Regions from separate parts of the Homo sapiens genome. Here all the other regions are linked to region 3. The links are contacts of gene promoters, found by promoter capture Hi-C in blood cells and fetal thymus (Javierre and others, 2016). All regions are on one chromosome and are shown on one strand. The core of a region is centred on a gene start or on the middle of the fragment in contact, and the rest is flanking DNA. Distances in the headings are between cores, read along the strand shown.

Region 1 (2,700 bases), core at 163-2,662, 550 kb after region 3:
ACTGGGAAGGGGATTGCTACGATCTCAGCACACTGAAGAACGTGACAGCTCTCATCCTTTCTGTGCTGATATGTCATGGTTAAAAAAACACAAGTGTACACTCAGTCCCGCTTTGATGAACAAGTTATGTTATAAAAATTCCATTAGGACTGATCTTCTCCAGGGAAGCCTGTTGTGGAAGAGGATTAAGTTTTTAGGCCAGTGCACAAAATGTTGAGCCCATAAAGAAATGAAGATTCATATAATTAGCATGATTTCAGCCACACCCAACCACCATTTATAACATTATATGGAAAATGTATTGTGAGGCTGATGGCATTTCCCTTCTCTGTCCCCTGCCTCCATGTCCATATGAAACATGGAGCTTCTCATTGCTTGCTGACTTCTGCCTGAGAGGGTCATTTTATATTTTCACGGTAAAATGGGGCATCTCTGCTCCTCCACATCTGCGTAAGAGAAAGATCTTTTCTGCACGTCTGCATCTATATAAGGGGCTTCTCTACTCTTCCATATTTGTAGCAGTTGGTTCTTCAAGTGGGCAGCCATTCCTTGGGCCATCTGAACTGTATAGCAAAAGTCTTCTGCCTGCTCCCCTGCCCAGGTGCTCTGCAACACAGTCCCTTGAGCCTGGGGTTGGTGTGGTCCCTTTGTGAACTGAAAGGCTTCCTATGGCGTCAGCTGTTAAATCGCTCAGCAGTCCCCCCTCCCACCTCAGCGTCACAGAGGTCATTCGCAGGTGTTTCTAAAGCACACCTGTAAGTGACCACCTGCTCCTTTGGAAACACACCCAGCTCACAGGCTCAAGGTTTAAGACGCCAATTTGATTACCAAGAAATATAAGTAACGTAGAACTATTTATAAAGAAAAAAATGCTCCAGATTAAAAGATTAATTCTTACATGGTTTTGGCCATAATCACAATCTTATACAACCTCAGTTATTCAACATGACCACCCTCCCCTCTCACCCACATACACCACCGTCCTCCCCAGAATAGCTACACAGGTGCAGAACCGCTCCACAGTCATCTTTCTGCAGCATCCCTAACTGTAGTGTCTGGCCCTTGCTTAAACTGGCTCTTGCTTTCTGTGACTGAGAGCTCATTTCATTGGAAGACATCCTTTGTATTCTTTTGCAGCTGTGTGAGCTTCTCTAAAATGTGCATCTGCTGATCCTCTCCCTCCACATCTAGCCCATGGAAAAAGTCAATCTCCCCTACTCCTGACAGCTCTGGAATTTAAGTCCCTCATGCCCTCTCTGAGTGCTCTGTTCTCTGGGCTGAACATCACCTTCTCATGTGCATGGATCACAAGCCTTTTAAGCTGCTACTTAGTCTTCTTAGGCTCAGCGCTAGTTTCTCAATGTATTCTTCAAGTTCTGCCCTGGACCAGACTTGGAGTGTGATATTCTAGATGTAGTCTGACCAGTGCCTGCCGTGGTCTAAGGACTCCTCTTCTAGATTGCTATTTCTTTAGGCCCTGGGTATGTGATATTTCCTGTGCTTCTCCTTATCCACTGTCCGCTGTGTGCTAGGCCCTGTGGATATGTTATTTCCTGGCAAACCTGAGGTAGGAATTGTTATTCTCCATTTAGAAATGACCAGAGGTCCTGAGAGGTGGAAGAGAAACAGCTCTGTCTGAGTTGGTCTGACTCAAAGCCTAGGCCCTTTCCACTCTGGCATGCTGCTTCTCTGTTGTAATTTAAAGCAGCTGGATAATCAGTTCTACACTACTCCCTTGGCTGGGGCTTCTGTTCCCCTACAGCCAGGAGGATTGTTCTTTTTGGAGACAGGAGAAACAGAACTGGAGTTGAGCATCCTTGTTTCCTCTGCGTCACGTCTTGACATTGCACTGCCTTCCACATCAGTGAGTCATTTCTTCCCAGCCCTTATTCTTGGCCTGAGCAGAGCTCAGAGAGCCCTTTCCATTGTCCTTGATTCCTTTTTGCTGTCTTTCTTACAGGTCGGGGCTGCCTTTTAAACCCCATCCTTGGGTTAGGTATGTGTTCTCCTTGCATCTCAGCTCCTCAGGGAGCTCCCCGGGTGGCCCACTTGCTTCCTTGGCTGTCTCTGCCCTGCCTTGAGGGAGCATGCGTGATGATGCAACCAGAAACACGTTTTTGAGAGCTCTTCCCCCCTCCATATGTCGTATATAATAGGGAGCTTGGAGTCATGCCCTTCAGGTCTCTAACATCTTTGAACACTACCTTCTCACAGTCAGTGGTTCCTGGGTCTGACTGCATTAGTATAATCTGAGATAATCTGAGATCCTTGTTAAAAATATAGACATCTGGGGTGTGCTTCCAGAGGGACTGAATCAGGGACTGGGCACTGGGAATTCATGTTGTTTTACAAGTGCTCCAGGTAATTATGAAGAGCAGCCGGCACATGAACTACCACTTGGAAACTGTGGGTCTTGACCGTATGTCTGATCATGTCTAATCTTCACCTCATGGGTCATCACAAACTTGAAAATCTCATAGCCTTCCTCTCTGAAGGTTCTAGTTACTTCTACTCCACCAGCCAGTTCTTTCAGAATTCAGTTTCCTCTCACTGTATCTCTCCTTTCTGAACTATTTATGGGGAGTTAATAGTCAATGTTCAATGAATGAACTGAATCTCAAACAATTTCTAGGACATATGTTTATAAGCAAATTGAATTGGAAATATATTGGATATTTGGCCTTTAGCTAAATGGAACTT
Region 2 (2,700 bases), core at 32-2,531, 890 kb after region 3:
GAGGCTGAGGCAGGAGAATGGCGCGAATCTGAGAGGCGGAGCTTGCAGTGAGCTGAGATCGAGCCACTGCACTCCAGCCTGGGTGACAGAGCAAGACTCTGTCTCAAAAAAAAAAAAAAAATTAAAATTAAACTAGAGATGTAGCCATTAATATGGCACAGCAATGGTTCAGAGTGGACAAAATAGAAACAAGAGCCAGAAACACTACCAGACACTATGAAACTGTGATACACTGTCATGCATTGCCTAATGATGGTGATACATTCTGAGATATTCATTATTAGGTAATTTTGTTGTTGTGTGAACATCATAGAGTACTTTCGCAGACCTAGATGGTATAGCCTACCACACACCTAGACTTTATGGCATAGCCTATTGCTCCCACGCTACAAACCTGTACAGCATGTTACAGGAAAGAGCAAAGGGCCAAGAATAACCAAGACTTTTTTTTTTTTTGAGACAGAGTCTTGCTCTGTCGTCCAGGCTGGAGTGCAGTGGCTCGATCTCGGCTCACTGCAAGCTCCGCCTCCTGGGTTCACGCCATTCTCCTGCCTCGGCCTCCCGAGTAGCTGGGACTAGAGGTGCCCACCACCACGCCCGGCTAATTTTTTTGTATTTTTAGTAGAGACGGGGTTTTACCATGTTAGCCAGGATGGCCTCAATCTCCTGGCCTCATGATCCGCCCACCTCGGCCTCCCAAAGTGCTGGGATTACAGGCATGAGCCACCACGCCCAGTCCATCATTGACCTAAACATCACTATGTGGTGAACAATTGTATTTTTCTTTTAATGGCACGGTAGATGAATAGGGAAAGGAAGGACAATTCAAAAAATAGAATTTAAAAATCCCACATAGATTGAAGGATAAAAACAATACTTTAAAAAACATCAAAAATACGTAGATAAAATGCCTGTCTCTGGTATTCATATAGGAAGAATTTCTTAAACAAGACCCATAAAAGTCCTAGCCATAAGATAAAGGATTGGTAAATTTAACTACATTAAAATTAAGATCTGTTCTTCAAAATACACCTTAAGGAAAGTGAAAGGAAAAGCTGAAAAGTTAGAGCATATATTTGTAACATTTATGACTGATAAAGGATTGGTATAAAAATATGTACTGAAGTCTTTAAAAAAAAAAGTCCCTCTCAAAAATAAATAATAAATAGAAAACAACCTATAGAACCTAGTAGAAAACAACCTAATAGTAAAGCATATGGAGAGATTTTTTTTAACAGGATTCAAATACATATGGCCACTAAACATATGAAGTGATTTCAACCTCATTAGTAATCAGGAAAATGCAAATTAAGCACACAAATAGATACCATTAACTATCCATCCATTTTTTACAGTTGAGGGAAAAACTAAAACATGACAGAGTTTATTCATCAATGGGAACTTTTATATACTGTTAGAAGGCATGTAAATTGGAACAGCCTCTTTGGAAAACAAGTCTGCATTATCTTGTAAGTATGAATATTCACATATCTTACAACCCAGTTGTCTTAGTCTGTTCAGACTGACACATTGAAATGAGACACAAAATATCACTGACTGGGTGATTTAAACAACAGAAGTTTATTTTCCCACAGTTCTGGAAGGTGGAAGTCTGGCAGCAGTTGACAGCATGGTCAGGTTCAGTGAGGGCTCTGTTCCTGCCTTGCACATGGCCACCTTCTCATCGTGTCCTCACATGAGACACACAGAAAGACTCTTCTTATAAGGCCACAGGCTTATTGGATTAGGGCCCCACTCTTAACAACCTCATTTAACCTTAATTACCTCCTAAAGACCCTATCTCAGATACAGTCATATTGGGGGTTAGAACTCAACACAGAATTTTGAGGAGACAAAATTCAGCCCATACCACTAACTCCCAGGTGCCCAAGAATACATATATAAAAGGATGTTTAAAGCACCAATTTTCATAATATCAACAAATTTAAGCAAGCCACATGTCCACCAACAATAAAATGGAAAATAAATTGTGGTATATTTATACAAAATACTATTATACATCAGTGAAAATGAAGAATGAGCTGCAGTTCTATGCAACAACATGAATACACATCAGTAAACTAAGGTTGAAAAGAAAAAAGAAAGTTCAAAAAATTACTACTTTCAGTATGATACACTTTTTATTGAGCTCAAAAACTAGCAAAATTCAACAATGTATTGTTTAGTCATGCATATATATTTGAAATAAAACTATCATTTTTATGCAAATGATGGATACAAAATTCAGGTGAGTAGTTATTTCTAGGGGTGGGGCAGTAAGGCAGTGAAATATTGATGGATATAACTCATAGTGTCTCAAAAGCCAATTGTTAAATTTTTTAGGACTTTCAAGAGCCCCTTGTCAAACCACTGGTAGCCTGAAATCAGCCATGGTGGGAGTATTTACACCATGGAAACTGGCAAATACTGAAACCAAGAGGCTGGTTGTTAAACATTTACCAGTATACCACTGAATGTAAGCTGTTGCTAGTGTTCCAGTTCTTGGTTTGAGTAGTAAGTTCTGTTCATTATTTTTTAAATGAACAAGGTTCTTAGTTTAGGTAGTAATGTCTGCTCATTATATTATTTAAAAAGAATGAATGAATGTAAACAAAGAGGTTCATGACTGGACCCAAAAAGTCAGCATATCACGAACCAAGGTGTATGATTGTTACAACTGTGTGCACCTACAGTAGGAAA
Region 3 (2,700 bases), core at 26-2,525:
AAGAAACAAAGACAAATCACTTACTACAAGAAAAGGCAAGAAAGATGGAAAAAAGGAAGAAGGAAAGGTTTGGCTGATAGCAAAGATTTAGGAAGAAATTGCAAAAGTACCGAAAGTTATAAGCATCACACAAAATGGACTAAGGTAAAAAGGTTTTTACGAATAAGGAGGATCATTACATAAAAAAGGTATTCACCAGAAATACGTAGCAATTCTCAATTTTTATATATCTCACAATATAACCTTAAATTACATGAAGCAAAAACCAGACATAAAGACAAAGAGAAATTTACAAATCCACAATTATGGTAAATTTTAAGACAGTTCTAGTGTTTGGCAATTCTATCAAATAAAAAACAAGTTAGAAAAGGGAAGATTTAAATATCAGAAAATAAGAAAGAACTTTGTCCAACATTTAGAGAATACACTTTCTGCTCAGTATATATGGAACATTAATTACACCATATTAGGTCACAAAGCAAGTCTCAACGAAAAACAATGGATATCGTACAGAGCATATTAAAAAATAACCAACAGGCACATATGTTTGAAAATTTACAAACATACTTCTTTAATACATGGTCCAAAAAGGAAATAACAAAGATGAGAAAATCTTAGGAACTGAACAACAATGAAAACAACATATATTACAGCTCAAGGCATGATATTAACCAGTGCATAGAGAATAAGTTTTAACCTTAAATATAACAATTAGAAGAAACATTTTTTAAACTCTTAATGTGCTAAGTGTCTTATTTAAAAAATTAGAACAAAATAATATAAACAATAAATCCAATAAATGTAGAAAGAATAAAGACAATAGCACCAAATAAAATCAAAACAGAGGATAGACGAGGCTAAAAGCTGATTAGTTTAAAAAGATCAGTAAGGTAAAATTTAAACTTGTTAACTGTTATTACTCTATTTTTCAATAATTGAAAAATGATTTTTAACTTAATAATTTTAGTAATTTAAAAAATTCATACTATTTTTTTCTGTTTGAAAATGGTTTGGGTAGCTTAGGTTTGGGATCATTACAATTGTTCTCATTAAAACTAATAGAAAAAAATTTTTTTCCACCTAACGGCTTTTCCCTGAGCTTTCAGGAGGCCATTGAAGCCGTTAAGACCGGGTCAGGTGAACAGGAAGTTAAAGACTGAAAAGGAGACACAAAACTGCCGACTTTCCCGACGGCGAATTGGCCCTCTGGAAACAGCCGACCAATCACAGGCAGCAGGGGCGCGCCCTGCAGCGGGGCTCCGGCTGCGGTTCCGTGGACTCGGCGACTAGGCGCCGCCTGACCAGTAGGAGCCGCCCTCGACGAGCGAGCTCGAAGGCTGCGACTGGCGCCGCCTCACCGCCTCCCACCGCCACTGACCGACCGTTCGACCGGCAAACATGGTTGAAGCGGATCGCCCGGGGAAGCTGTTCATTGGGGGCCTCAACCTCGAAACCGACGAGAAAGCCCTCGAAGCCGAGTTTGGCAAGTATGGCCGCATCGTCGAGGTGCTCCTGATGAAAGACCGAGAAACCAACAAGTCGAGGGGCTTCGCGTTCGTCACCTTTGAAAGCCCCGCAGACGCCAAGGCCGCCGCCAGAGACATGAACGGCAAGTCCCTGGATGGTAAGGCCATCAAGGTGGCCCAGGCCACCAAACCGGCGTTCGAGAGCAGCCGGCGGGGCCCGCCGCCTCCCCGCAGCCGCGGTCGCCCGAGGTTCCTGCGCGGAACCCGCGGGGGTGGCGGCGGCCCGCGGCGTTCCCCATCCCGGGGCGGGCCCGATGATGACGGCGGCTACACGGCGGATTTCGACCTGCGGCCCTCCAGGGCCCCGATGCCCATGAAGCGTGGGCCGCCGCCGCGCAGGGTCGGCCCACCCCCCAAGAGGGCCGCGCCGTCGGGCCCGGCTCGCAGCAGCGGCGGTGGAATGCGCGGGAGGGCCCTGGCCGTGCGGGGGCGAGACGGCTACTCAGGCCCACCGCGCCGGGAGCCGCTGCCCCCGCGCCGCGACCCCTACCTGGGCCCGCGGGATGAGGGCTACTCGTCCAGAGACGGCTACTCGAGCCGAGACTACCGCGAACCCCGGGGTTTTGCCCCCTCGCCCGGAGAGTACACCCACCGCGATTACGGCCACTCCAGTGTCCGGGACGACTGTCCCTTGAGAGGCTACAGCGACCGAGACGGCTACGGAGGTCGCGACCGTGACTACGGGGATCATCTGAGCAGAGGCTCCCATCGAGAGCCCTTTGAGAGCTACGGAGAGCTGCGCGGCGCCGCCCCAGGACGGGGGACACCGCCATCTTACGGAGGAGGAGGCCGCTACGAGGAGTACCGGGGCTACTCACCCGATGCCTACAGCGGCGGCCGCGACAGTTACAGCAGCAGTTATGGCCGGAGCGACCGCTACTCGAGGGGCCGACACCGGGTGGGCAGACCAGATCGTGGGCTCTCTCTGTCCATGGAAAGGGGCTGCCCTCCCCAGCGTGATTCTTACAGCCGGTCAGGCTGCAGGGTGCCCAGGGGCGGAGGCCGTCTAGGAGGCCGCTTGGAGAGAGGAGGAGGCCGGAGCAGATACTAAGCAGGAACAGACTTGGGACCAAAAATCCCTTTTCAACGAAACTAACAAAAAGAAGAACCTGTTGTATGGTAACTACCCAAGGACTAGTACAAGGAAGAGTTGTTTTTACCTTTTAAGAATTTC

Evidence for each region. The method cuts DNA at HindIII sites, captures the fragments that hold promoters and counts their contacts. A CHiCAGO score of 5 or more calls a contact.
Region 1: a fragment that was not itself captured here is called in contact with the fragment with the promoter of RBMXL2 in region 3 in 2 of 17 cell types (naive B cells and total B cells); the score reaches 5.4 in naive B cells.
Region 2: a fragment that was not itself captured here is called in contact with the fragment with the promoter of RBMXL2 in region 3 in 3 of 17 cell types (M2 macrophages, M0 macrophages and M1 macrophages); the score reaches 9.3 in M2 macrophages.

Annotation. Positions count from the first base shown.
Region 1 is chr11:7,635,874-7,638,573 of GRCh38, forward strand. The region is part of intron 14 of PPFIBP2 (PPFIB scaffold protein 2); the gene reads left to right. Among named protein-coding and RNA genes, the nearest start is that of CYB5R2, 36 kb to the right of the region's middle. The HindIII fragment of the contact is 4,983 bases long and covers 1-2,700 here.
Region 2 is chr11:7,980,315-7,983,014 of GRCh38, forward strand. No RefSeq gene overlaps it. Among named protein-coding and RNA genes, the nearest start is that of EIF3F, 5.7 kb to the right of the region's middle. The HindIII fragment of the contact is 4,433 bases long and covers 1-2,700 here.
Region 3 is chr11:7,087,723-7,090,422 of GRCh38, forward strand. It overlaps RBMXL2 (RBMX like 2), which reads left to right and starts at 1,276. Exons shown (of 1, transcript NM_014469.5): 1 at 1,276-2,700. The coding sequence starts at 1,399. The coding sequence ends at 2,577. It also overlaps a transcript of NLRP14 not described here. The HindIII fragment of the contact is 13,917 bases long and covers 1-2,700 here.